6 separate regions of the Homo sapiens genome follow, and all the other regions are linked to region 5. Evidence: promoter capture Hi-C in 16 types of primary human blood cells and fetal thymus (Javierre and others, 2016). All regions are on one chromosome and are shown on one strand. Each heading gives the region's core, a stretch centred on a gene start or on the middle of the fragment in contact. The rest is flanking DNA. Distances are from core to core; before and after follow the strand shown.

The links. Contacts are between HindIII fragments. The CHiCAGO score rates a contact against its expected background, and 5 or more counts as called.
Region 1: a contact is called between the fragment with the promoter of MYOZ2 here and the fragment with the promoter of ARLN in region 5, in 9 of 17 cell types (total CD4 T cells, non-activated CD4 T cells, activated CD4 T cells and 6 more). The highest score is 8.9, in total CD4 T cells.
Region 2: a contact is called between a fragment that was not itself captured here and the fragment with the promoter of ARLN in region 5, in 2 of 17 cell types (M0 macrophages and M2 macrophages). The highest score is 6.2, in M0 macrophages.
Region 3: a contact is called between a fragment that was not itself captured here and the fragment with the promoter of ARLN in region 5, in 1 of 17 cell types (naive CD4 T cells). The highest score is 5.4, in naive CD4 T cells.
Region 4: a contact is called between a fragment that was not itself captured here and the fragment with the promoter of ARLN in region 5, in 2 of 17 cell types (total CD4 T cells and monocytes). The highest score is 5.6, in total CD4 T cells.
Region 6: a contact is called between a fragment that was not itself captured here and the fragment with the promoter of ARLN in region 5, in 4 of 17 cell types (M1 macrophages, M2 macrophages, endothelial precursors and 1 more). The highest score is 8.0, in M1 macrophages.

What each region holds. Positions count from the first base shown.
Region 1 is chr4:119,134,136-119,139,145 of GRCh38, forward strand. It overlaps MYOZ2 (myozenin 2), which reads left to right and starts at 1,697. Exons shown (of 6, transcript NM_016599.5): 1 at 1,697-1,847; 2 at 2,377-2,466. The coding sequence starts at 2,391. The HindIII fragment of the contact is 2,789 bases long and covers 588-3,376 here.
Region 2 is chr4:119,085,737-119,090,282 of GRCh38, forward strand. No RefSeq gene overlaps it. Among named protein-coding and RNA genes, the nearest start is that of MYOZ2, 48 kb to the right of the region's middle. The HindIII fragment of the contact is 459 bases long and covers 1,057-1,515 here.
Region 3 is chr4:119,473,002-119,478,131 of GRCh38, forward strand. It overlaps the pseudogene SEPTIN7P14. Among named protein-coding and RNA genes, the nearest start is that of LINC01061, 65 kb to the left of the region's middle. The HindIII fragment of the contact is 675 bases long and covers 1,474-2,148 here.
Region 4 is chr4:119,101,782-119,106,702 of GRCh38, forward strand. All of the region lies in intron 2 of LOC102723967 (a long non-coding RNA gene), which reads left to right. Among named protein-coding and RNA genes, the nearest start is that of MYOZ2, 32 kb to the right of the region's middle. RefSeq lists an enhancer at 1,553-1,847. The HindIII fragment of the contact is 1,683 bases long and covers 642-2,324 here.
Region 5 is chr4:119,297,481-119,302,518 of GRCh38, forward strand. It overlaps ARLN (allregulin), which reads right to left and starts at 3,165. Exons shown (of 2, transcript NM_001001701.4): 1 at 2,856-3,165; 2 at 1-1,299. The coding sequence starts at 3,055. The coding sequence ends at 1,299. RefSeq lists enhancers at 2,759-2,808, 2,909-3,138. The HindIII fragment of the contact is 14,870 bases long and covers 1-5,038 here.
Region 6 is chr4:119,067,793-119,072,885 of GRCh38, forward strand. No RefSeq gene overlaps it. Among named protein-coding and RNA genes, the nearest start is that of MYOZ2, 65 kb to the right of the region's middle. RefSeq lists an enhancer at 222-1,038. The HindIII fragment of the contact is 198 bases long and covers 1,268-1,465 here.

The sequences.
Region 1 (5,010 bases), core at 447-2,946, 160 kb before region 5:
GGACTCAAGCAATCTTCCCACCCCAGCCTTCAGAGTAGCTGGGATTACAGGTGCTAGTAAAACTGTTGAGGACGCCATTTCAACCTTTAGAATTGTACATAACATAAACTTTTGCTAGATAGATAGATAGATAGATAGATAGATAGATAGATAGATAGATAGATAGATAGAATAATGTTGGCATGTTCTTAGTGAAAAAACTGAGTTGTCACTCAGCAACAATTATTTCTTTGTTAGTAAGTTATGTATGAATTTTAATTGGGCTCATGACCACCTAGAATAGAAGCTACACTTCCCAACCTTTCTTGAGTTATGTACGGCTATATGGCTAAGTTCTGCCCAATGGGATGTAAACAGAAGTATGAACAAAATATCAGACATGTTCTGAAAAGAAGACAGTGTTCCCTTCTCATTTTTTTTTCTTTTTCCTGCTGGTTGAAATATATGCATGCTGACTGGAGCTGGGGCAGCCAATTAGGCCCAAGGGGTCTGCATTTTAGGGATAGTGGAGCAAAAAGTTAGAGGGTAACTGAGCCCTTGATAATTATGTCAGTCATGCAAACCCTCAATTACTTACTTCTAGACTAAGCTTACCTGTGAGAGAAACATCTTCCATCTTTTTACAGTTCTGTTTTGGGGGGGTTTCTGTCACTCCCATTTGACTTTTATCTTAACTAATAGAAAAATATAAAGAAAATGAAGCAGAGTAAGGGACTAGAGAGTGGCACAGTGTGATATTTTAGACAAGGTGATAAGGGAAGGATTTTATGAGGGATTGTTATCTGAGCAGAGTCCTGAATGCATGACTGTGCCATGTGAGTAGAGGGAAAGTATGGAAGGGGGAAATAGTAAAAGGAATACAGTATCTATTTTCATTTTGGAAACCAAAATTAACATAATGATTATCTGTTGAGGACACCATTTCAACCAGGGAAAGGGGGAAATAGTAAAAGGAAAGGGGGAAACAGTAAAAGGAAAAGCCCAGAGATGAGAGCACGTTTTTGTGTCCAGGGACCATCAAGGAGGCCAAACCTTTTGACAGGCAAACCTTTCAAATCTTGTCAGGCCTGCAAATGAAAATCCTTGACCCTAGACATTGTAAAGACTGGTCAACTTTGCAGGGACTGGTCTCTGTAGGCCCTTCAAAAAGCATGACCCAGTTATGAGTCTCAGCTTTTACCCAGCTTCATGGCTTATCCTCTAATGGTTCATTTCAAAATGCTTCCTGAGTTCACTATTCAAATACTACATACTTTTCTCAACCTAGCATGAGTTCTCACTACAGCTTAAGAACTGGCTCTATTGATCCACCCCACATTACTTCCTTTCTTCTTGAGTCTACATAGATATTACTGCCTATATTGTTCATTTTAATTATGAAAAATCTATCATTCTGTTCTGATTCATGCATGTGTCTCTTGCCACCTCAATTAACATGTAACATAAGAGCTAGATGTTTAAAAGTGTTTAAAATCCCTTTTGGCTACTATCTGTTCAACAGAAAGTGCTCACTAAAAACTTTCTGCATGTCCAATGAACGTTTCATTTAACCATCTCACAAACTAGAAACACAATGGAGAGAGCCTAATCTTTCCCTGTTCCTCCCTTTCGCCAGGAAGATATGAGTAGCTAAAGTATTTGGTGCTATATATAGCCAGTTGATGTCAGCTGAATGCCAGTCTCTTCAGAAAAGCTCAGTCCCCAGTTTGAGTCAGAGTAGGGACCATGCTGTCCCAGGTTCAAGGATAAAAACCATCAGGCCCAAGTGCCATCCATAGTCCATCTCCAGAGTCTTCCTCCACAAACTGGGATTCATCCCCGCTGAAAAAGCACAATCTAACAGCAAGGTGAGTATGTTGTTTCCTAAAATGTTTCATTAGTCAGTTGTCCAAGGATATTCAGAGTTGTGACTCATAAATGGGCATTCTCTGCTTTAAAGGGCAGCTGTTGCCAATATTAAAATGCTACCACCAAAGAATTCTGGTTTAGTCTAGTGTCTTCTTCATTCTTACAGTTTGCTGGAATTGATGGAGTGTGATGCTGGTACAAATGAAGGCCAGTGAGGAGACAATGACAGACTAAAATACTGTGGAGAAAAGAGAGGGAGGGGAAAGGAGACCAGCAATTTCATTGTTTCTCACTGCCTGATGATCATTGTATTAATGTCCAGACTGGGTCTCTGTTCACTGTGACATTGCCTGTCAATGAATAACATACTCTGTCACCAGATAAGGAATGCGTATTGAAGTCTTTCAGTAGCAAGCGATAATAACTTTTTAATAAAGAACAAAGATGTTGTCTTTCAAAACAGTGATTATAAGACACTCCAAATGAGTTCTTCACATTGCCTCAATAATGTCCCTTTGTTTTTAACAGGGAACAAAAAAACCATGCTATCACATAATACTATGATGAAGCAGAGAAAACAGCAAGCAACAGCCATCATGAAGGAAGTCCATGGAAATGGTATCAATAAAAATCCTTCGTAGCATTAATATAGCACAGCATGAATGTGGCTCCATCCTGACGTTGTTTAATATTCCATAGTTTACTTCCTTTAGATTCTTGCTGTTCTGTCATAACAAACCTGGAGCTCTAGGGGGTGTAGAAAAGCCTATGGTAACTAATCCTTTTGTAGTCATCCTTTCTCATTTGGAAGCTATTTTCAGAGGAACAACTGCTGTAAAAGGCATGAAGCAATCTGACAGCTGATGTACATTCTGCTTGGCTTGCCTTCCACATTATAAGTTAAGATCACTCTCGATTCTTTTTTTTTTCTGGACAAGTCTCATACAATCTTGTCTTTATTGTCCATCCCACATGGTTTAGCTTGATTTCTTTTACCTTACATTATATAAATCACTCAAAATAAGTTCTATCATCTTTTTTATCAAGCTATTAAGTTGGAATTCATATTTATTGCTTATTATTTAACTCCATTTCTATTGCTTATTTATTTAACCCTTCATATTTGTTAATTGATTTACTAACATATTTTGTGTGCAAAGTCTACTTTTATTTGTAACTTCTGAGAAAATATAAAGTTATTGTAGTCTCAAAGCATATGACTCAAAAAAATTTTAATATATATTACGTGCAAGGTAATATTTCACTCTCTCCTTTTCTTTAAATTCTAGCAACTAACTTGAGAAAGCAATGCTTTATAACTTGCATTTTGATTCTTATAAAGGAAATTCAACTTTGTTTATAAGCAACGTATAGCATCAGTTTTAAATGTTAAGAAAAATATTCAGGTCCTCTTAGGAGCTGATTTGAGCCATTCCAGATATATTAGTGGCATTTTCAGAATGCCTCCTTATTTCCCCTGTATTGACAAGGAATGCAGCCTTTCACCACTACAATATTGAGACCTAGAAGCTTGAGACCCGGGAAGAGTATTGAGCATAATGTTTTCATATTACACCTTCCATAAAGCAAGAGGAACAGAATCAAAGACTTTTAGATGCTCCCCACGCAATGTAATCATAACTAAGAGGTCCGTTGTTGTTTTCTATTTTCTGCAATACAGAACCACTGTACTGGATTCAACTTGGTTCTCATGTTTTACTGTAATGTCAAATTAGCTTGGAATAAAATGAGAATAATTCTGAGTCAGATACCAGAACTGAATTCATACCAATCCAAAGTTCCAAAATTCATGCCTTATTTAAAATTTCATGCATCTTTGTGTTTCCAGATTCAAGTAGTTTACTTGAAATTATTTTTTAGCTTTTCTGATCAATGTGGCAAAAATCAGATGATCACTGGAGTTTGTGACAAAATTGTTTACCTTAAAATAGACCTTTCATGTTATTATTTTCTAATGACATCCTAATCATAAAACAGTCAGTCCATTTAATGTATTCTAGCCTAAATCATGTGTTGGAATCTACTGTTAGCTCTGACATAGATCTATAAGGGTAAGAAGTTTTTTTTCCTTTTTTTTATAAACATAACTATTGTTTTTATAAAAAATATGTGGGAGAAAACACACAATTATATATCAAAGTGGGGGAAACCCTCAAAACCACTATCTCACCACCAGTAAATCCTAGCCACGTAAAGTCAGCTGAAGCCCTCCCTCCCATGTCACTGGATGAGTACCAGCTCCCTTAAGAGGAGTCACATGCTCTGTCTTTGTTGGAATGTCAAGTATTTCAGATAACATGGGGATAATCAGACTCTTTCCAAGCTCATCCCAGATGAAATAACTTCAGTACTTTATGAAACCGCTCAAATATTTTTCTTCTCTTATTTCCTCTGACATTTTATATGGAACTTTACTATTTGTGTATAGCATGATGTTTAGAGATCTGGAGCTAGGGGAGTATAATTTTTTCTCAGGATGCATAATAAAATGGACTTCAGAGAAACTTTTTTGGGAATGATCCTCCAAACTTTCAAACATTTTACAGGAGTAAAAATCTGGATAATTTAAGATAAAACATGCAACTGCTTTGATCTTAATTGTAAGACTAAATAAATCAAATTTTGCCTGGATTGTCCTTTATAAAGATAAATTGAAAAGGATGTTCCAGTCGAAATCCCCTTCTCCTGCCTTCTCTCCTTTCCCCTTGTGCATCAGAATTTTTTTTCAGCCTCATAACTCATTTAATTTTTATTACTACTTACCAAAACATTTAGCTTGGAGGAGTATAAAATGTGACAATGAGTTGGCTAAATCACTTGTTGTCCTCTTAACATGAGGTGGAAATTCAATCCCATTCTTGTAGGGGAAAGAGATTGCAGCCGGTGAGTCTTTGAGATAAATCACTAGAAAAATATAAGAACCAGAAATGGGGAGTTTTACATCAGAGCCCTCATTCCATCAGGAGTGATAACCTCAAAGAATTATTAAAAAATTCTCTTCATATAGATTATAATGCTAACTGCATAGAATGAGTGAGAGGTGGATAACTCCCAGCCTCCACTAATCACAACCCCAAATTGTTGCTCATTTTGAATCCATTGTGATTTGGTTTCAAATTATGTACTAGAAGCAAATATACT
Region 2 (4,546 bases), core at 36-2,535, 210 kb before region 5:
TTCCCAGCTTGTGACCCTATTCATCCATCAAGAAGCAACTCAAGGGCCAGGTGCAGTGGCTGACACCTGTAATCCCAGCCCTTTGGGAGCCTGAGGCAGGTGGATCACATGAAGCCAGGAGTTCAAGACCAGCCTGGCCAACAGGGTGAAGCCCTGCCTCTAACAAAAATACAAACACTGGCTGGGCATGGTGATGCACACCTGTGATCCCAGCTACTCAAGAGGCTGAGGCAAGAGAGTTGCTCAAACCCAGGAGGCAGAGGTTGTAGTGAGCCAAGATCATGCCACTGCACTCCAGCCTGGGTGACAGAGCAAGATTCTGTCTCAAAAATAAATAAATAAATAAATAAAATTTAAAAAGCAACTCAAATATCACTCATTAAAGTATTTCATTCTTTAAGCAGTTAGTCACTCCCTCCTCTGCATTTCCATAACACTTCATTTCTAGTCAATGTTAGAGATGACGACTTGCTCACCTTTTATTTTTCAACACCTAAAGAATACGTGAATGACTTATAGGAGGTCCATAATACATGCTTATCGAATAGATGAATAAACTGAGAGTGCTATGGTTTCTTGATCTCCAAACCAATTTTGCCACAATAGACTTCATTCAGTCTTTTAGTTCTTCCAACAAATATTTATTATGTTTATATTTTGTGCCAGGTACTCTGTTAGTCAAAAGGGTAACAGTGGTGAAAAGGTAGATAAGGTTTCTGCCCTCATGGAGGTGCTTGTAGCAAGAAATACAGATAATAAAAATAACAAATAAATAATAAGTTCCAGGAAAGTAATAAGCAGTGGATAAAAGAGAGAGTAAATAACAAAGGCCATCTTAGAAACAGCAATGGGAAAGAAACCCTTCTCCAAGCACTTAATATTTTAACTAAGATCTCAAGGCTAATATGCTCAGCCTTGTAAGGAGTTGAGGAAGAATATTTCAGGCAGAGAGAACAGCAAGTCTTGTCGACAAGAAAGAGTTTGCTGTGGACAAGAAACAGAAAGGCTCACGTGACCATGGCCCTAGCAGTTGATGGTGAAAAATTTGGCAACAAAAGCTTTGAGAAGTAGGCAAACTCACAGCTCTTGAGTGGCTTGGCATGCTTTGTAGGTTATAAGCAATTTGAATTTTGTCTTAAAAGCACTGGGATGTCAGAGGCTTCCTAGCTGGAAGTAAACTGCTTTGATCTATGCATTTAAAAATTGGGGCAATGAATTAAAGAAGGTCAAGCACCAGTTAGGAAGCTCCTGCAGAAGTCCAGGCAAACAGTGGTTAATGTGGAGTAATCAGAGATGGAACAAACACAGAGTTTAATCAAATTTGAGAGCTAGACTCAGTAGGCCTTGGAAATATATCTGGTGTGGGCTGTGGAAGAAACGGAGATGTTACCGTTGACGTTTAGATTTTTATAATTTGAACCATTAGATGGATGGCATACTTTTTACTGAGATGAGAATGACCAAGATAAGAAATACATTTAGGAAGGACTTAATCAATTAAGTATGGACATTTTAAGCTTTAATTGTGGAAAACCACTGCTACAGTAAAAGAACCACTAGATGGCAATAATAATAGTTAATTATTGGGAGTGCCTACCATGTGTCAGACTTTTCTTACATATTAACTTCTTTAATCCCCGCAGTCATTCTATAAGGAAGTTACTACTGTAAACTCCATTTTACAGATAAGGAAAGTAAGGTACAGAATTGTCACCTTACCTCCCCAAGAGCTCACATTTGTATTAATAAGTGGAAGATTCAGGATTCAAATCCAGGCAGTCTGACTCCAGATCCTGGCCTTGTAATCTGTGTACCACAAAAAATTAATAATTTGGTGCCAGGACAGTTATTGGACACTTCTCATTCATATATAAAACCAACAGGAAGCAAACATAGCTCTCCACACATTATATGACTGAACTTACTAAGCATTGGCTTTCATAAACGCCGATTCTGTGGCTGAAAGATCACTTTTCTTAACATTGATGCCATCACAGAACCACATTATGTACTGGGCTCCAAGTAGACAGCAAATAATATAATAAAGTCTGCTCTGCCTAAATATATATTGCTCCGCAGCGACTTGTCCCAGGGGAATTTTGATAGCTATTTAGCTCTCTTGCCTGGGGGCAATCACCTGCAGAAACCCACTTAATCCACAGTTATCACATCAGAAATGATGGATTGACTGTATAACGAAGCAGGCACTGGGATAGACATGGGAACTACAACTCTCTGCCTTCATAGAGCTTCCAAGTAGTGAAGGAGACAAAAAAGGTAAATGAAATAGCAAAATAAACAGTGATATGTGCTGAATGTAGTACACATCCCAGGGGCACCCAGTCCTTTACAGAGAAAGTTATGTTTGAGCTGAGACCTGAAAAGGAAGGCAGGACTTAACCTAGAGGCAGCCCAATATTTAATTGCTACAGAAGAAACTTACAAAGCACTTTGGAAGTGGCACAGGAGCTTTTGTACCATTTGACATGGAAAGCTGGTGTCCCAAACTCCCAAAGGTGCAAATATCGAAATTGCCTTCACCTATTCTTGGTGTCAGTGCTCCATCTCCAACCCCTGCTTTCCTTTTTTTTTTAACTTTTAAGTTCAGAGGGTACAAGTGCAACTTTGTTACATAGGTAAACTTTGTCATGGGGGTTTGTTGTACAGATTATTTCATCACCCAGGTATTAAACCTAGTACCCATTAGTTATTTTTCCTGATCCTCTCCCTCCTCCCTCCCATCACCCTCTGACAGGTCCCAGTGTGTGTTGTTCCCCTCTCTGTGTTCATGTATTCTCATCATTTAGCTCCTACTTATAAGTGAGAACACGGGGTGTTTGGTTTTCTGTTCCTGTGTTAGTTTGCTAAGGAAAATGGCCTCCAGCTGCATCCATGTCCCTGCAAAAGACATGATCTCATTCCTTTGTATGGCTGCATAGTATTCCATGGTGTATATGTACCATGTTTTCTTTATCCAATCTGTCATCAACGGGCATTTAGGTTGCCCATTGCCCATCAATGGGCATTAGGTTGCTCCTTAATTTTTTGGAGTAGTTTCAGTAGCAATGGTACCATGCCTTTGCTATTGTGAGTAGTGCTGCAATGAACATACACATGCATGTGTCTTTATAATAGAATGATTTATATTCCTTTGGGTATATACCAAGTAATAGGATTGCTGGGTAGAATGGTATTTTTGTCTTTAGGTCTTTGAGAAATTGCCACACTGTCTTCCACAATGGCTGAACTAATTTACACTCCCACCAACAGTGTATAGGCATTCTTTTTTTCTACAACCTCACTAGCATCTGTTATTTTTTGACTTTTTAGTAATAGCCATTCTGACTGGTGTGAGATGGTGTCTCATTGTAGTTTTGATTTGCACTTCTCTAATGATCAGTGATGTTGAGCTTTTCTTCATACGATTGTTGGCTGCATGTATGTCTTCTTCTGAAAAGTGTTCATGTCCTTTGCCATTTTTTAGTGGGGTTGTTTGTTTTTTTGTAAATTTGTTTAAGTTCCTTGTAGGTGCTGAATATTAGACCTTTGTCAGATGCATATTTTGCAAAAATTTTCTCCCATTCTGTAGATTGTCTTTTTACTCTGTTGATAGTTTCTTTTGCTTTTCAGAAGCTCTTTAATTTAATTAGATCAAACTTGTCAATTTTTGCTTTTGTTGCAATTGCTTTTGGCATCTTCATCATGAAATCTTTGCCTGTGCCTATGTCCTGAAAAGTATTGCCTAGGTTGTCTTCCAGGGTTTTTATAGTATTAGGTTTTATGTTTAAGTCTTTAATCCACCTTGATTTAATTTTTGTATGTGGTATAAGGATGGGGTCCAGTTTCAATCTTCTACATATGGCTAGCTAGTTATCCCAGCACCATTTATTGAATGGGGAATCTTTTCCCCATTGCTTGTTTTTGTCAGGTTTGTCAAAGATCAGATAGGTGTAGGTGTGTGGCTTTATTGTTGTGTTCTCTATTCTGTTCCATTGGTCTATGTATCTCTGTTTTTGTACCTGTACCGTGCTGTTTTGGTTACTGTAGCCCTGTAGTATAGTTTGACCAGGTAGTGTGATATCTCCAGCTTTGTTCTTTTTGTTTAGGATTGCCTTGGCTATGTGGGCTCTTTTTTAGTTCCATATGAATCTTAAAATAATTTTTTCTAGTTCTGTGAAGAATCTCAATGGTAGTTTAACAGGAAGAGCATTGAATCTATAAATTGTTTTGTGCAATATGTCCATTTTAACACTATTGATTCTTCCTATCCATGAGCATGGAATGTTTTTCCATTTGTTTGTGTCATCTCTGAGTACTTTGAGTGGTGTTTTGTAGTTCTCCTTCTAGAGATTGTTCACCTTCCTAGTTAGCTGTATTCCTAGGTATTTTATTCTTTTTGTGGCTATAGTGAATGGGATTATGTTCCTGATTTGTCTCTTGGCTTGACTGTTGTTGGTGTATAGGAATGCTAGTGATTTTTGAGCATTGACTTTGTATTCTGAGACTTTGCTGAAGTTGTTTATCAATTTAAGGTTTTGGGCTGAAA
Region 3 (5,130 bases), core at 561-3,060, 170 kb after region 5:
AACTTGCAACCTCAGGTGATCTGCCCACTTCGGCCTCCCAAAGTGCTGGGATCACAGGTGTGAGCCACTGTGCCTGGCCAAGATAAACATACCTTAAGAAAATTTTTAAAAATAATTATTAATATAAAAAACCATGATGAACAAGATACCAAAAATTTAAATACAAGATTGTGCAGGAAATACTTATGGAGTTCAGTGACTATCTTGAAATGTAGTACATACAACCATCATCACTGTTCCTTCACAGTACATTTATTTTTCCACTGAAATAATCCTCACAAAATTCTCTCAATTACCATAATCTTACATATCTATGTTGTGGGTATTAGAACTTAATATCAGTCACCATCCTTGAAATTTAGGCTCTCTGGTCCAACGTTTCACTTTGAAATGTATTTTGTATATTGTTGTATCAGTCAAAATTTCCAATTTAAATTATAGTTATCCATCCATCCATCCATCCATCCATCCATCTGTCCATTTATTTATTGGGTTTGTGTATGAAGGAGAAAAAATAGAATCTTCAAATGCTAATGATTAATCCATTTTAACGACTATAAAATGGAAATGTGTACAGTTACAAAGGCATACTAAGTTGGTCTGCCTCATCAAATAGGCCTGGGCAAAAATTGGTAGGTAAAATTAAAGGGAATCACAGTGCATTTTACTCTCATGATCTCTGTTAGAAATGTCCCACTAAACATGTTACGTTACCAACTCTTCTATTATGCCCTCATCTCTACCTCTATAGATTTAGCCTTTGTGAGCTATTCTGAAACAGCTTATTCCACAGCTTCTGGTCAATTTTTAGACAATGTAAATAGAGATCCACCTTCAGATATAGACTGGTGAGTCTGGTCTTGTTCAGAGAACAATTAAGGACCTTCAAGCTAGTGAATTGTCAATTCCTTTGTAAAAAGTGTTTTATTAACCTTCAGCTACCTTGGAGGTAGTTGTTGACAGAGCATTATATTAAAACTTGTATTAAAGAATACAGATATGCATTGTATTAGAGGCTTTAGGACTTTTTTCAAAACGAACCTTGAAAAACTTCTTCAATTTTTTTTTTTTAAAAGCTGTTCTATTAAAGGGATAATATAGTGAATAAATATTTGTTGTCTGTTTAACTTACCTTATGTAGAGCTATTGGCTCTAAGGATTTTGAAAGGACAACAATAATTCTCTAAAAATAATTCAGGCACCTTTGGCCATTTGTGTAACCAGGTACAAATTACCACGTTTCCCAGTTTCCCCCTTGAGTCCAACTGTAATGTATTGTTCTGTAAAGTATAGTCCAGTTGTCAGCTCTGTTTGCCTTGGTCAATTGAATGATCCTCCTCCTTAAGCTTAGCCTATAGTGCATTTGGCTTAATAAATGAAACTGTAACATGCCAGCCACACAATAGAGGATTTTATAGAACTGTTTCTGCTTGGAATACTATAATTGGAATTTGAGTTAACTATAATTAAAAAAGCTTTCATAGCCCATGGTATATGAACTCTGAAACCCCAAATACCAAAATCCTACTATATAAAAATGATCCACATACTAAAAAAAAAAAAAAAAAACCAGACACACAAATCGAGTTTAATTTCGTATCATGCTATTTTCCTAAAATATAGTTTCTAAAGTTATTGCAAATTAGTTCCTGCTGCTTGGTAAAATACCATATTTAAACTTAATTACAACTGCCTTCCTGCAATGAAGGGCCAACTTTTTCAAATAATGTGTTACAGCCCAGTGACTCTAGGGAGTCTATGGTCCCATTGCTGCAAATGAGCAGATCGGTGAAAACAAAAACATATTAAGAAGTCCACATTTCTAACAAACACCTTGCAAAGAATAAAATGGTAATTTAAGGAATATGTCCACTTAATATACATTTCATGTATATAGGACACATAATACAATAAATACCCTTTTTACTACCCCCAATTTAAGAAGTAGACTAGTATAATAGAAGGCATATCTCCTTGGTACTCAGTATTTCTAAAAGGCAGTAATGGCTGTCTCCTCTAAGCACCTGAGATGATATGCCTCTGTGCACTCTAGCCTTAGAAATATGCTTATCTCCTGCAGGCAGAGCATGCTGGAAGTGCCAGGGAGTTAAGGTTACCAGGAACAGCCCTCAACTAATAATGAGGAAAAGCTTGTGGATAAATATCCAAGCCCCCTGCCTTCAGGTAGGAACACTGATATTTTATTAGATTGGTGCAAAAATAATTGCGGTTATATAGTCTCAAAGAGGAAACAGTCTCCACGTGAAATCGAGCCCCAGTTGTCCACAGTAATAACCCGCTTATTAACTTAGCCTATATGGATTTACTTTCTTCTCATCTGTCTTCTCTGCTTTCGCAGGGAAATAAGTAGTTCACTAGTGTTTCCTGTGATAACCTCCTGAATAAACTACTTATGCTCAAATCCTTATGTTGGGGTTTTCTTCTGGAGGAATTGCCAAACTGTTGAAGTTCCCTGTGTTCATCCCCAATCTCAGCTCTGTCCGTCTCCCCACCAAGAGTTACTGTTTTGATTTTTTGTGTTTCTTGTTCCTTTCCTGTTTGTAATAATTATACTAATATATTAAAAATATTAGTAACTACACTGGTTTGCTATAATAAGGTATATCTTCCCCCAGAATATAAAGTCCTTGGAGACTTTCCCTAAAGAGTCTAGACCTTGACCATTATGCGCTTCCCAAGCTGTGGCTGCTGCATTTCACATTTTCTTTCAAAATTGGGCAAGGAATTACTAAAAGATGCTCCAGTAGATCATCTGGGTACCAAACATATTTCTTTCTGTACCCAGTGTAGAATAGCAACCCTACTTTTTTATGATGCTCTGGGTCAGTTACTCTTGCCAGGATAGTGACTTCTTTCCTTGGTCTCTCAGCACACAGACCCCAAAGTGACTGTGTAGCAGCCACAGCTTAAGTTTAATGGAATTTCTGCTGTGTCTGCTGAAGGAAGCATTTCCTTTAAAAAATAGGATTTCTAACTCACAGAGCCCAGAGTTGAGGGAGCGAGAAGTGATGGCAAAAGGACAATTTCTGCTGTTACCCTTTAGTTTCCAGATCCATGTATTTGGTCTGTTGAAGACAGACTACCATATAATGATTAGTAATAGGTGTATACTTCATCTTGGAGGATGCAGCCCTACCCTTGAAGTATATCAGCTCCAATCTTGTTCTTCAGCTGTCCCTTCAAAAGGCCAGCTTCTGGGCTATGTGGCAGGTTATAAATCCAGTGGATCTTATGATCATGTACCCAGGGGTGTACTGCTTTTGCTCTGAGTTCTTTGGTCTGATGTGATGTCACACAGGATTCCATAACAATGGATCAAACACTCTGTAGCCCCCAGATGCTGAGGCTTTGCCAGCAGGAAAGGCAAAACCATACCCTCAAAATGTGTCTGTTCCAGTCAAGCTTAATTGCAACCCCTTCTAGGGTAGGACAGGCTGAAAATAATCAACAGGCCAGAGATCTCCTCCAGGGATGATGTTATTAGGAGCTCATCGTTGGTCTCATTTGGACATTTGACAGAGGCAGCACTGTATCAGCTTGGAGTGGGAATCCACGGACCCATGCATAGCCTTCATCCCTCTATCATGACTGTTTATTCGTGTGACTTAGTTTTGTCCCAGACTGAAACTCTAACAGTCTAGATAAGAACCTGTCTTTCATAATATGAGTTGGATCCCTATTCCATACTACCCCTAGGCCTGCCTTGATGCATGTCTGGACTGATAAATTATTTTCTTTATTAATTTATTTATTGAGACAGGTTCTCACTCTGTCACCCAGGCTGAGTGCAGTGATCATGGCTCACTGCAATCTCTGCCTTCTAGGCTGAGGCAATACTCCACCTCAGTCCCAAGTAGCTGGAACTATAGGCACGTGCCACCATGCCAGCCTAATTTTTTATTTTTTGTAAAGACAGGGTCTTGTTCTGTTGCCCAGGCTGGTCTCAAACTCCTGGGCTCAAACAGTCCTCCCACTTCGGCCTCCCAAAGTGCTGAGATTACAAATGTGAGCCATCAGGCCTGGCCTTATTTCTTTAAATTTAATCTGCCTACAATTTTAAAAAATTATGCATTCTTGACAAAATTGTATTTAGGCATTTTTTTAAACAAATATTTATTTCTCCTTCATTAGCAAGATAAACACTGTTAATTTATAGCTTTTCCTATAAATTTCATTTCTCCTATTCTTTGGAATAATCCCACAATCATTAAGCCTTGTTTCTGACATGGAGAGATGAGGGCAGATTTTTTTTTTCCTTTTTTAGATTTGTTGTGTTAATTAAATCTTATGGTGCTATAACATGCAGTGGTTAAAAGGGTTGGAGAAATCACCTTGTTCAAATTATAGTAGAAAATTTATAGCTAATTGAATGACCTGAGGCCGGTTACTTGACCTCTTTGGCCTCCAGTTTTATCATATCTAAAGGACAATAATGTATATCTCAGAGGGTTTTTGCAGAGATTGAAAATGTATGAAATGCCTAACACAGTAGCATATACCTGGTTTGGTTATTTCTGGTTACAAAACCAAGCCTCACAGTGTGTAACCAAATGGGAATTCCATTTCTATTAGAGCATACTTTCATTTTGAGAGCCTTGATAGGCCAGGGGAGACAGGAAAGTCAAAGTTTTGAAATTTTCTTTCACCAGTGACTCCCATAGACTTGATTATGGTCAGAGTGTCATACAAATCTAGGCTATACACAGACATGTTTCCAAGCTAAAGTGATAAGATGTCTAAAAGAAATATTTCTTAGTCTGTGTTGAATTAATGCTGCAGAAGGTCATGGGTGAGTGAATTACTTTCAGAAGGGAGGAAGCAATAGCAATAGTGAGCAAACTGTGTATGAGGAGACCCTATGAAGCAAGGGCATTCTGTATTGAATATTGCAACTCAAGGACCAATTCAAGGTTCCTTCTTGGGAACTTTTATAGAGAGACACAGACCATAAAAGAAGGGTACAGAAATTAAGATGTTGAGAGAAACAATACTACCATGCCAGTTTACATGCAAAGAGCTACTTCTGTCTTTTGGTTCAGATGGGAACTATGGGAATGAAAGCTGCTAGTGTTTTGTGGAATCTTTTCCAGAATATTTTTATTGTTTTTC
Region 4 (4,921 bases), core at 233-2,732, 200 kb before region 5:
GAGCCCAGGAGATAGTGGCTGCAGTGAGCCGTAATTGTGCCATTTCATTCCTGCCTGGGTGACAGAGTGAGACCCTGTCTCAAAAAAAAGAAAAAAAAATGGACAATTCACCTCTTGTAATAGGAAAGAGGGCAAAACATAAAGTTACAGATGCAAGTAAGTTGTCATGTATGGTTGGGGGAATGTGGATTGCTGACGGGAAGTGATGATGAGACAGAATTAAACTGACTACAGTTACCCTCTTGGTCTTTTTCTGTTTTCTACTCTCTGAAGACAATAAATATAATAACTATCATGGGCAGATAAGAACACCACAGCAGAAAATGATTTTTAGAGGAGGTGAGAGATGTCATTGGAGTGGGGGTGGGAGTACATTCCAAGAGTGACTAGTAGAGGGAGCAACCACTTTGACGAATATCATATGACCTGAGCATAAGAACGAAAATCACATTGCTGGACTGAGGGCCTGTATTCTGATGTGCAATGACTGTCATTATGTAAGGAAAGTAGGAAGTGATCAGAAGAATTTAGAAAATCTTATTAAAAGTTGAAATTATATTTAATAAGCAATATTGCTGATCCATGGGGCCCCTGTAAGGTTCTGTGAAGGGGAAGCGAAAGAAGATACTTAAGAAAGATAAAGCTTCCTATTAGTATTGGCTGTATTAAAAGACACCAACAAAGTGGTCTGTTGTTCCAGTCCAACTGGGGTCATCGCTGGCTTGTCTCAAGAAAGATATCAAAGTATAAGTCAACAAGGCTAATTTTATGTAATCACAGCTCACAGAAAAAAATTGTGATGGAAACAACTACTATACAGAAATTATATGGTAGATAGAATTAGGAATAGACAGAGAAAAACAAAGTTGACAAAAGAATCATCAATGTATAATGTAGAATTAATTTCAAAGCTCTAAAGCCCTGCAAATAAAAACATGTTTCATGAGAAATGAACTCTAGAAATCATTCATGTCCAGACAACAGTGATACCTGTGTGAGTCAGAACTAACCGTGCCTATCCTGAAATACTACATTATACCAAGTGAATGGGTAATGGTTGTAAGCTATGTTTCAAAACAAGAGGGCAGTGGGGCACATTGTCCCCATTCCTTATACCCACACCTCAACTCATGACTACCTGAAGTTCAAAGACTTCGTCCTTCAGGAACAATAAACTTTGTTTGTTTTTTGAGATGGAGTCTGGCTCTGCCACCCAGGCTGGAGTGCAGTGGCGCAATCTCGGCTCACTGCAACCTCCGCCTCCCAGGTTCAAGCGATTCTCCTGCCTCAGCCTCCTGAGTAGCTGGGATTACAGGCGCCCACCACCATGCCCAGTTAATTTTTACAATAAACTCTTAGGGCAAAATTTGTTCAAAGAAATTAGCAATCAACATGTAATCTTCGCTTTTAGATTTAACATCTCAAAATAAAACTCTGAGGCTTATATGCCAACCATCAAAACAAATCCTCATTCAAGTTGATGTATCTCGGAGCAGAGTGGTGGTCACACTCAAGGGCAAACCCATCTGGCCTTCACAAAAAGCCCATAGTTTTGAAAAGGCATCAATAAAGAAGGGGCAGATGGAGCTGCCAGCGCACACCACACTTGTATCCAGGAAGTTCCTTGCTCTCTTTTTGGCTGAGTAAATGACTCACTGTTGTAATCTTGAGTAAGTCACTTAAATTCCAAGCATTCAACTTCCTTCCATCCACTAACAATGACCTAATACTAAACATGCTTGAAAAATGATGTAAGACCATTTCCTCTCCATTACCAGCAGCTAAGAGTAACAGATGACTAAGGAAAAAAAAAAAAAGGAATGATCCATAAAGCAAAAGTAATTCACCCTTTATTATAAAACCACTCCCACTAAGTTAGGAGTATTTTTCCTAGGAATGTTTTTGAGCTATTTCAACATGGGTACTGGGATAGCTAATTCAAGAGCTAGGGTTCAGCTTTTTTCACAAAAACAGATTTTCAAACTATGATCTGTTGTCTAGGTGAGAACGAGTGTGCCAGTGTCTTTTAAAAAGTGTTTTATACTGTGTGTCCATGAACTTGTATCCTAATCTTCTAGTTTAATTCAAAAATGCTCACCAAATATAATAAAAGTTTATAGCTTTAGTTCAGAAGCAAATAGTAATTAGAAAGAATGAAGGCTTTAGCCAGTTCACTTTTGTACAATATAAAATGCAGATTAAATTTTTTTTTTTCAAAAAAACCCACAAAGGAAAAACTATAATATGGGGGTTAGGTATGTAGATTTAGCCAACACACCTAGCTTCAAATCTTGGGTCTGTTTACTAGCTCTAGGTTGAGGGAAAGCTTCTTAATTGCTCTAAGTTTTAGACTTTTCATTTGCAAAATGTGGATAGTAATGCCTGATCCATGCATATTGCTGTGAACATTAAGCAAGAAAAAATATACATATAAAAGTTATGCATAAGGTATATATGTAGCAATTAATGCAGTCTGATGCATAATTAATAATTGGGTTTTATAAGTGAGGAAAAAGTTGACCTGTGTAATACAGTAGTTTAATTTTATTCATTTAGTTTTCAGCTATTCAGAGCCTTTATTAAGTTCTTCTTTAGAAAGAAGTAATTTCTCAAATTCTTCAAAATCATCCACCAGGTTTAGAGCAGACATTACACACAATGTTTTGCTTCTCTTTGGTGACCAATGTGACTTCTACAACAAATTCTATTTCTTATCTCTGTGTTATTTCAGATATTTAAGTAATTTAATATTTCAAATATTACTTAAAACTTCCAGTTATTCTTGGGGATTATTTGCATGTCAGACATCAACATGTAGATCATTGCTTTGTTAAGTAGTATCTTGAAATCTAACTGTTTAGCAAAGTAGAAAGACCATAGGAAAAATAGTAATAAAAAAACAGAGGGAATAATCCTTCCCTTCCTCAGCCCTAGAGTATAAATGATTAAGCATCATAATTGCAGGGTTCTTTATGCTTTATACAGTAAAAATAACAGAGAACAAGGGTAACAAACACAGTTCCCTGTGAGCCAGTGGCATGCTTCCCTGCCTACCACATGTCCTAAGCCAAGACTTGAGAAACAGGTGACTTGGCAAAGAAAAAGAAATAGCATATACTCATAGAAAGCCCATAAACCAGAGCAGATATGTAACTTGAAAACCCAACCAAGGGCCTACTACCCTTTTATTGGTTGTGCCTCTTGCCTCTATTGCCTTGTATTACCTCTGTTGGTAGCGATCGAGGCTGTGAACATGGTAAGGAAAAAAAGAAAGACTGCTAAAACTGGCTTGGCACTGAATCCCGTCACACAGCATTACAGGTCTGTGAGCACACAAGCAGAATTTGACTTGCCCTTTTACATATCTTCACTATAACCTTGTCACTTTCTTAACTGAATTTACGGATCTCAGGTTGGTTTTGTCTTTACTATTCTTTACTGAATATTTACATCAAATGGGTGTTTGTTGCTGTCATTATTTTTATTGCTGTTTTGCCAGTTTGTTCAATGAAAATGGCCATAGCCAAATGGCCAAGAATAACTATGCAGAAATATTGCTTGTCATAAATTATATATCCTAATAATATGATAATGATATGCAACTGTTGAGTGCATTATATAACCTCTTATAAATGAATTTCTTCACTTTCAATTTGAATAGAGTTAAAAACTTATCAATTACAAAGTTGTTATGAAGAAGATAATCAGAATTACCCAGCTTGAAGAAAGTCATTTAATTCAGTGTCTTATTTCTATGCAAAAAGCCTCACAACTTATTAAAGACAAAGTTTATATTAAATTACATATAATATACACATTGCACGTATATAAACACACAAATACTTTCGCAGTGGAAATCTACTCTTAAATACTGTTATTTAGGAATAAAGAGTTAAGGTCAAGGATTCTATAATATTGAAATAACCAAAATGTTCTATGAAACAAATAGATGAATTAGAGAAAGATTTTGAAAGAGGTTGGAATAGATTATGCAATAGTAGCTTATGTGTGTATTCAGAAAAATGAAAAACCATTTCCTGTCATTCAGGAAGAAGGGGTCATCTTATTCTAGTGCATAAAGTGAGCAAAGGATGTAGTTAAACCAAAGTGAACTGGCTATATTTCTAAAATTAGCTCTTCTATGAGACCATCAAAATCCATGTTTGAAAAAAAATCCTTCATATTTTCACTTATTTTGCTTTGATTACTCAAAGAAAGAAAAGCTGGTATCTGAGATCTAAAAGCAGATAAAAAACAAATTCCAAATGTTCAAATCTGAGCAACTTAATTCCAAACTTAGCTAATCCTGAGTCTACCTGGACATTTGCCCTTTTTAATTTTATTTTTTTTAACCAGAAATACTGGTCTAGAATAATCAGGAAGCATAAATCATGAGAGCCAAGAGGGAAAGCCAGAAATTTGCAGCTGGCACAACTGATCTGGTCTTGTCAGTATAAATGACCATGACATGTTGATTCCAGTAGGACCTGAGGCCCCCAGAGTAGAGGTGTGATGGAAATTGTGCTTTGGTGGAAATAGCATGGAAACTCAGGTAAGAGAATTCACTTGAATTCAGTTTCTGCCTCTTTCCAGTTGTGTTAGTCATGACTCCTGAAGGAAGTTGCAGAAATCCAACCAGAACTAGCCTAGGCATAGGAAAATGAGACATTTATTGGCTCAGGAAAGCAAACTGGCAGAAGGACAAAAATACAGTTGTCACCAAGGACAACTGGCCCCAGGGTAGGAATGCTGCTGGGTTCCTCTCTTTCATTGCCATTTTTGTCCGTATGTCAGCTTCCTTCTCTAGGACCAGAGTTCTCAAGGTACCTATCACAACAACTTTCAGTGGCCCCTGCCTCCCCTGTGAACAACTTCCCAACCAGCAAAGAGGAGTCTCTCCCTACATCAAAGTCCTCCATCC
Region 5 (5,038 bases), core at 1,915-4,414:
TGCCCACGTTAGAGTGCAGTGGCCCCATCTTGGCTCACTGCAACCTCCACCTCCCGGATTCAAGCAATTCTCGTGCCTCAGCCTCCCAAATAGCTGGGACTACAGGTGCATGCCAACATGCCCAGCTAATTTTTTTGTATTTTTTTGTATTTTTTAATAGAGATAGGGTTTCACCAGGTTGGCCAGGCTGGTGTCACAACTCTTGACCTCAAGTGATCTACCACCCTTGGCCTCCCAAAGTGCTGGGATTATAGGCGTGAGCCACTGTGCCCGGCCAACATTAATATTTTTTATTAGCTACTACAGCTTAGAGTAGCTGCTATGGGAGTGTGGCCTTTTTGATTAAATACTAGCTGATCAACCCTAGAATATAAATTCTTGTTTTATAACATTTAGATTTAAATAACAATAAGAATGTAAGCTCCATGAAGGCAAGAATGCCTTTTTGTTTTGTTCACTGCTGTGTCTAAAATAATGCCTGGCTCAAATATTTGTTGAATGAGTAAATATGCTGACTTTGCTGAAGTATTTAAGCAAGTTACAGATATTATACAAGTAAATATTTTGGGCACAAGCACACTTAATGAAACAGTAAAAAAAAAATAGGTTTGAAACACATAATCCTTCGTTATAGGAGGCTCAAGAGTTTAAAAGGAAAAAAGGGGGAAGATACCCAGGTAAGAGGGCATGCATGCTAGCTTTCCAATACTTTGATATTACCTGCTTTTTCTAAGACTGTATCAACCTGTCGCCCACCCATAACCTATCTTTTCATAACAGAGTCCAACTAAACCTAAAAATTAAAACTGGAACCTAGCAGCTTCTACGCAATCTAAGAATACTTTGTTCCCTCTCTCAAAATCTTTCCCTGCTTTTGAATAATTGACTTTTGAATTCATAAAAACCTTCCCTTATTAATCATCCTATTACTTGCATCATAGTAAACCCTGATCAACTCTTAAAACATTAAAAGACATTACTATATTTCTTAATGAATACACAAGACCTTTAAGTACAAATGCTTTTATATTCAGCCCCTGTAAAGCCATCAGATGTTTGAAAGTTTTTAAACACGAACCAAAGGGTTTAATTTTAAGAACTTAGCTAGGAATGGGTGAAATCCTACCCAATTAATAGAGTTCTGCAAATTAGTAACAAAGTGTAAAATGAAAGGAAGGGTCCCTTGGAGATGTGAAATTCTTCTATTGAGAGTCCTGTCTTCTTTATTCAAGAAGTTTGTAGCCATTTTCAGAATTCACTCAAGAACCAACTTCTTAATTTAGATATCAGCGAACAAGTCTGTAAAAAGCAAGTATTTGTCAGCAATATGTGCTTTATCTTCCCAGTTTTTAACACTTTATGCCTATTTACATATTGATAAAAAGAAAAGCCTAGAACATTTCTTGTAAGGCCTCTATTTTCTATCCAGAGCTGAAAGTTCAGGTCATAAAAACACACACACACACAAAACCCACTGTATTTGAGATTATCAGTCTCTACCAAAACAGGGAGGGAGAGTAAAACTCTCCCTTTACAAATGGCTTGACAGAGAATTTTATAGAAATCCCTATCCCTTTTGCCATCCTCCCATTAATCCCTCTCGCTCCCCTGCCACCCCTTTTTTTGAGACAGGGTTTGCTTTGTCTCCCAGACTGGAGTATAGTGGCACGTTCACAGCTCACTGAAGCCTCGACCTCCCCAGCTCAAGCAATCCTCCTATTTCAGCTTCCCAAGTAGCTGGGACTACAGGCGTGAGCCACTGTGCCTGGCCCTCTCTGTCTTCTCTAACTTACTACACCATCCAAGAAATGAGACAGTGAGGCTTAAGACACCCAAATCTTGGTGAAAATATAGGATGGGGGTTGGGGGTGTAGAAGAAGTGACTGCCTATCAAGAAGTGAGAATTTCAGAAGTAACTCATAGGCATGGTGACTAAGGAGTTAACAGTGAGTGAACAATCAACTCCAAAGTCCAGGAGAGCTGTCTAGATGGGCTACACTGCTCTTCTCCCATAGGAGCCCTGTTTCATCTCACTGCTTCTCCTTAGCTTGTCTCTTAACACCATCTCCATTTGGTGTCTGCTTCCTCCTGCCCTATTCTCTTAAGTTCCCTTCCTTTACCCTCTGCCAGAATTGTCTTTTCAGAGCGAGTGGCGATGAAAATGGAGAGCATGGGTTTTACAAGTAAACTCTACAGAATTTTGTAACTTGGTGTTTTAGGATATGTGGATGTGTGTAAGAAAAGGGCAAAGTGTCTCAGGTTTCTGGGAGGTAACGGTGGATAAAGTTGGCGTTTACTGAAATGGTAACGCTGCAAGGCAAGTAAATTTGGGTAAGAAGCTGTTAAGAGTTCAGTTTTGGACATGTTTAGTTTGAGACAGCTGCGTGGTCTGCTCATGGTTAAACAGCTGTATAGTAAAAATAGCTTTCGTTGAGCACTTACTACTGCCAGGCAACATGCAAATCACTACGATCTCAATCTTCACTACACCCCTATGACCTGGGTTACTAATGGTCCCAAATGGCAGATGAAAAAATAAAGCTCCAAAAGGCGAAATAACTTCTCCGGTCGCTTCATGGTGCTGCAGGAACTCAAGCCTAGCTGGTTTCATTCCAAATCATGAGAAAATATGACGCCAAGTTTTCTCCACACTTCTTTGGAGACTCCCACGGACGTGCTAAAGAAGGACATTTTACTCCTAGTCCTTCTCCCCCACCCACCCGACTGCGCCACTCACCAGCTGTGTGATCTTGGACATATATAAACTCTCTGGAATTCAGTCCCCTCCCCGCCCAAAAGCGAGCAAATGATCTCTAAGCTCCTTACCACCCCAATTTTGCATTCGAGATACTCACCATGGCAAAAAATACACAAAGAGAAACACCACCACATCGAAAAGGATGAAAAGCCAGAGGTCCAACCAGTAGGAGTGTTTGGGAAGCCCATTTGCCCCAGACTGAGGCCTCACATCGAAGTTCTGCCTCCCTCCCTCGCTAAAGCCTCGCCGCTCCCGGAGACCATCTCGACCATCAACACCCGGTGCGTCCACCTCCATCTCGCTCCTGCAGCTTCGTAACAACCCTAGAAACCGAAAATGCTTAAGTTCCCGGACTTTGGTGTTCGCCGCACCGGAAACTGAGCGGAGTCCGGCCGCCTGCGCAGTGCGCCGCGCCCCGGGTTCCGGAATGCACTCTGAACCTACTCTTCCCAGCGCGCAGGCGCCTGGCTCGGCTTTCCGCTGCCTCCGTGACCGCTGGCATGAAGCGCGGCCTCCGCCTTGACACTAAGTCAATGGGCCCGCCTACTTCTGCCTCGCGGCGTCCCAGGCAGATAGCTGGTTATTCAGGTTTCGTTGGAAGAAATACGTTCTCGTCCCCCTGAAAGGCCCAGTCCAGTCAGGTGATGGACTCCTCCCTGAAACTGCACGAGGTCACCTCTCCTATCCCCGTATTCCGTTTGGATCCTTATGCCAACGTGTTAGGAAGGCCCCCTCTGGTGGGTTTTGTACTGTCTCTAGCATTTGACACTTAATATTTAAACACCACCAATGAGGTGGACGTCCTACTCACGGGACTGAGTTTCCAAACGGGCCAGAGAGCAGCACGTGAGCATTTTGCAGGTACTTCAAGGGAGTGGGTTTAAGAATAACCTGGCCGCGCCCCCCTGTAATCCCAGCACTTTGAGAGGCCGAGGCGGGCGGATCACCTGAGGTAAGGAGTTCGAGACCAGCCTGGCCAACATGCTGAAATCCCGTCTCTACTAAAAAAAAAAAAAAAAAAAAAAAAATCCAAAAATTAGCCGGGCGTGGTGGCAGGCGCCTGTAATCCCAGTTACTCGGGAGGCTGAGGCAGGAGAATCGCTTGAACCCGGGAGGCGGAGGTTGCAGTGAGCTGAGATCGTGCCACTATTGCACTCCAGCCTGGGCAACAGAGCGAGACTCCATCTGGGGGGAAATGGGGGTGGGAAGAATAACCCAAAGGTTATTTGACTTTGAGTGTGAGCCTCAGCAAGAACAGAATGCTAGCAGGAAGAAAATGACCTATACTGCCTGGATTTTACCTCGTGGGTCCAATTTCAAATATTCTCTTTCTTGTCACATTATGATTCCTGAATTGTTCAGAAAATAACGGGCACCCAGACATATAAGTGGTTCTCTTGGTGCATAGTAAATGGAGATAAGACTGTAGTTGTGTTTTTACAAAGTCATTAAATCGTCGTAAAACCTCTTTGAAGGGGCAGTACTCCATCTTATAGAATTAGGAAATGAGACACAAAAGGAGTGAATTGTCTAAGGTTACTAAAAAAATTATAAAGCCTAAAATTAACTCCAAATCCAGCACTCTTAAAGCTGTTCCATAGCTTCCTAACCTTGCTCCAATTTGCCTCCAAATCAATTGCCAGGTTTTAGAGACAAAGATAGTATACGACCTTTCAAGAAAAATGCTTTGTAGATTCTGGGATGAGAGGGCCATTACCTGAGAATTAATTAGATTGTGTGCTGTAATACAGATTGTCTGATGGTAGTAGACAAAAAGACCCTGGGCTTAAGTGGCATTGAATCTTTACAAAAATTAGGAAAGGCAAATAAACAATTGCCTCTACCAGAGATGGAAGCATTCTTCTCGCTGACAAGGTAGGATCAATTACTCCTAGTTATTGAAGTAGGATTGATAAAAAATTATTGAGATTATTAGTGTTGAAGAAGCATGACATAAACTGAACAGGTCTTGAAATGGTTTTAAACTTGTCTTTGGCCCAGAGTCACATGCTCATCATGAGGGGATGTTGACAGTATGATCTGTTCTAGAGTCAGGAACGTCTGCCAGACTTGGAAGAGCAACTAGTGCAAATAAGGAGGGGTTATTTAAACTAAATTCAGTTGAAAGATTCTATTTCCGACTTTACCCTTGTAAAAGTCCCACTGATTGTTGATTATTCCACATTACAGAAATGAGTTTAGAGTGTGTTATGGCTGATTTTGAACTACTGGCCTCAAGTGATCCTTCTGCCTCGACTTCCCAAAGTACTGGGATTACAG
Region 6 (5,093 bases), core at 117-2,616, 230 kb before region 5:
CGATTTTCCAGGTGCCGTCTGTGGCCCCTTTCTTTGACTAGGAAAGGGAACTCCCTGATCCCTTGCACTTCCCGAGTGAGGTAATGCCTCGCCCTGCTTTGGCTGGCACACGGTGCGCTGCACCCACTGTCCTGTGCCCACTGTCTGGCACTCCCTAGTGAGATGAACTCGGTACCTCAGATGGAAATGCAGAAATCACCCGTCTTCTGCGTTGCTCACGCTGGGAGCTGTAGACCAGAGCTGTTCCCATTCGGCCATCTTGGCTCCACCTATCACATATGTGTCAAAAAATATTTTTTTAAAGGCTGGTACTTGAAAACTTTACTTTAAGAATGAGGCTGGGTGCGTGGCTCACACCTGTAATTCTAGCACTTTGGGAGGCCGAGGTGGGTGGATCACTTGAGGTCAGGAATTCAAGACCAGCCTGGCCAACATGGTGAAACCCCCTCTCTATTAAAAACATAAAAATTAGCCAGGCATGGTGGTGTGCACCTGTAATCCCAGCTATTCAGGAGGCTGAGGCACAAAAATCACTTGAACCCAGGAGGTAGAGATTGCAGTGAACCAAGGTCGCACCACTGCCCTCCAGACTGCGGTAGAGTGAGATTCTGTTGAAAAAACAAAAGAAAAAGAACGAAGAGTGTTTTAAACATTTAAATGAGTTAAGAGTACTAGACTACCTTAAAATGCTAATGCTATATAAAGAGCCTGTTTTTTCTAAGGAATCCTAGTGCTTACTAAACAATAAACTTCAAAACATACTGAGAGGTAGGTGGTGTCATCTGCATACAGCGCCAACAGGCAGCCCGAGGCAAGGAGAGTTCAATTCCCTTGCTTGTCTCCCAGGAAGACAGCAACAGAAATACCTGAAGATTAGTCAGTGTTTCCCTAGTCCACATAATAACAGAAGCATTTAGCACAAAATGCTCCTTCTCTGCAATTTTGGAAAATCACAAGATCTGTGACTTCTCAAATTTAACAGAACAGTACTTACCATGAAGTGGCGTTTCATTTTTTATAGCCCTATAAAACATGACAGTTTATATTTTTAGAAAGGATCTGGCAATTTCCTCCCTCCCCCAATAAAAATCAAGTAATTTTATGAAGGGCATTTAAGGAGGAAATGCCTCCAATGTATCTTGCTCTGATACACTTTTTCTCTCTCTAAAGTTGTAGTAAAGATTTGCTATATTGTACTTTTCTTCTTCTTGACTTTTCTGTCCCCCTTCTCCATAAACTTTACTCCCACCACTGTCCAAGAGGAAAAAGCTTCACTGACTCCTCAAAATGTCACAGTTTATTTGTCTTACTGAGAGTCTGAAGAGGCTTTATAAAATAAGGCAGTATTGTCTCATCATGATCATTTGAATAAGCATGAGGTTTGCTCTAAATTACCAAACAAAGTATAACAGGTTATATGTAAGGAAAGGCACAATCTTATTTTAGGCTAAATTCCCCCTGAAGAAGCTTGTCTATAGTACTATGAACATATAGAGATAGAGATAGGATTTCCTGCTTAGTCTTTTCTTTCTTTCTTTTTTTTTTTTGGATGTGGGCAAACCTCATTTTAATTGCAAAAGACTTAATTTACAGCACATTCAATAATGAACCAACAGGAGAGTTGCTGACTTTGGAACATATGAATATATAAAAATTCCTTGCAATTCAGGTAGTCAAGATAAAAAGTGCATACAAGGAAAGCAATCCTCATTTTTCTGAAAATGTTTACATTTTAAAAGGTGAGTAGACATACTTGGAAGTTCAAAGCAGTAGGATGCAGGGAAAGGAAAACCCTTTTCCATGTTGTTAGGCAAAAGTATATCAAATATATCCCAATTCCACTGGATAAAGTCAGTTGGATGACCTCCTTGAACCAAGCTAGGGCAGAACACTTAGTAAAAGCGGGCCCTGGGTGGGGATGCAAATCCAGGAGAAGAGGGGCACCAGATCCCATGCAGTGCCAAACACATCCATTCCACCCTCTAACACATACGAGGCACATCGCCCCATGTCCCTGGACACAAGATCCACGAGAACAGTCAGCAGATGATCACTGCTCCCATGGCCTGGTGCTTTCTAATGGTCTTAATACAGGCCATGGAGAAAATCCTTTACTACCAAAGGCAAACTGTCATTGAACTTAAGTCATAAAGGATGTTGTGGGGGAAATTCTTGTAACACATACATAGGGACTTCTATTTACCTAATTAGAACAATGATTACACAATTGACATTCCTGTTTCCATAAGGTTTTGTTCTCTATGCTGGAATGGCTGAAGGAAAAGTTGTCTATTTTTGGTTTTATTTTACATTTTCAAAAGAGAGGGAACAGAGAGAAAAATGCCCAACTTTGGGGCCCAGCAGGTACAAAAGCAGACTTCCCTGACTCTAGATCCATCAGATTTGGGGGATGTTTCACTGCCTAGGGAAGGTTAGTGAAGCCCGTTATATCCCCAATCCTACAGGAAGAATTCTGCAGTTAATCTATCACAGTGTTCTAGCAAACCTGCTTAGCCTTTTCTCAGCATCACCTTTTCTAGAAAAAAATATTGATTTGGATACTTGAGCTATAAGTGTAATCTTCAGGGGTAGTTGTTCAACGCAGAGTGCGTGTGTCAGGAAGTAAAGGGCCATCCTTGGTACTGCCCCTGCCCCCACTTGGATGAAGCAATCATTGTTGAAACAACGTAGAAAACCAAATCACAGTATTCTGCAGAAGCTTTGCAGCACCTAGAGCTGATCCTCGACCTGTCAGGACTAGCCTCATTTTAAGAGGTTGGCTTGGTAGTTTTTCTTGTTGATCTACATGTCATTCATACCACAGCTTTCTGCCAGACCAGTACATAGGACAGAGAACAATAATAGTTTAAAAATAAATAAAAGGGGTATATTTTTTCCATAACTTTTTATTATTTGGACGTTTATGGCAATTAGATGCCTCTTTATCCTTGAATTCAAAAGTTCTCTCTCTCTGGTTTTATCTACAGTAACTATGGCTATGATAAGTAGCAATACAAAATGCCTATGATTTATTGAAGTTGATGCTTAATAAAAGGCTGATGAAAGGAAAAAGAATCCTAATTTTGTGATAAAACCACCAAAACTCAATGCCCAGCTAAGATAAACCCCATGTTCAGCATGAACTTGATAAAGAAAATCACAAAAAAGAGTGGCAGAAATTTCATGTCCGGCAGTGTTCTCTGGTTGTGATGTTTAAAATTTTCATATTTCGAATGAAACTCATCTGGTTCTTCTACAATACATTTGAATAAGCAATGTATCTGAATTTCTCATTTTGTATACAAAGGAAGACTGAGAAATGAATAAGAATTAACTGTTCAAGTTCCAAAATGCTATCATGTAGGAAAAAGCAGATTTTTAGGAACAGATAGGAACAGATTTTATAGATACTTTGCCCGAGGAGGTTGCAAACAAACAATACATTTAGCTTTCACTTTTTACAGTATGAATAAATATTTTTTCTCAAAAATAAGTCTTATATGAATTTGTAACATGTTCCTATTTTATCATTACTCTGCTATAGAATTGTCTTAGTCTGTTCCTGCTGCTATAACAGAATACCTCGATTATCTATGAAGAACAGAAATATGTTTTCTGAGTTCTGGAGTTGGAGTCCAAGATCAAGGCACTAGGAAACTTGGTATCTCACAAGAGCTGCACTCTGCTTCCAATATGGCACCTCTAGCTGCATCCACACATGGCAGAAAGAATGGAAGAGTTGAACTCACCTCTTCAAGCCTTCTTATAAAACACGAATCCCATCAATGAGGGTGAACCCTCATCACTTCCTAAGGCTAATCACTTCCTAAAGGCTCCACCTCTTAATATTGTTACATTGGGGATTAAGTTTCACATGAATTTTGGAGGGGACAAACTTCCAAATCAAAGCAATGGAACAATTTAAGAATTATTCTTAAAACAAAACACATTTAAAAATAACTAATACAAATATATAGTTAGATAAAAGAAATAAGATGTAGTGTTAGATCAATAGGGTGGCTATATTTACAATAATCTATTGTACTTTTCAAAATAGCTGGAGAGAATAGTTTGAATGTTTCAAGCAAAACGAAATGACAAATATTTAAGGTGATAAATATGCAAAGTACACTGATTCGATCTTTACAAATTATTTGAATGTATTATCACATGTACCCCAAAACTATGTGCATCTATCATGCATCATTAAAAAAACTTTTAAAAAATTTAAAAATAGTCATTCCAGAATTAAAAAAAGGTGTGGGGTACAGTGAGGAGTTCTGAGGAAGACTGAATTTTAGCCATAAGTATAAAACAAATGTTTTTACTAACATGAAAAGATTGATATTTATTTCACAAATATTTAAATAAAATATGTGTATTGCATTCACTGCAAAAATTTCTCTTCAGTCATAAATTACCCCAATTTAACATTTTCTCTAAGTTATTATCATTTGAGGGTATCAATGGCAAGATTTTATTTTAATCCAAGAAAATTGGAGTTTTTGTCAGTATATTTAAAGTTCACCAGGTAAAGCTCATGATGATTTTTAATTTCTCTGACAAAGGGAAACATGCAATTTCATCAGCATGAGTGGTCAGCAGATATAATAACATTAATTGTTTCTGTTTCTGCCCTCGACTTTTTAACAGAGAATACCAAATTCTACTTTTGCATTGATGTACTACTAAAATTAATTTTTAATAAAACTTTATAACAAATCCATCCAATCTCAGTCAGCTTTGACTAAACAAGATACAATTTTCACAATTCTTTTGCAACTCCATTAATTTGTTTTCACTTAGGCAATTAAGCAATTTGTATGAATTCAAAAAACCATTTTGGTAAGTTTCTATTTTTCTGAGAGTTTTATGAATACTTAATTTGTTTGAGTGCTCATTTACTCCTAAGCCAATTTGGGTATTTTAGATTTGTAATGCCATTGAATGTAGAAAAATATCATGTATACCTATCATACAAACATAGATATATACATGTACACATACATAAACATACAGACAGATGCAACCAGATCTTATGGCATTTTATTTTAAAAATTTTAGTCACGGAATAAATAACAGATGGTGATGAG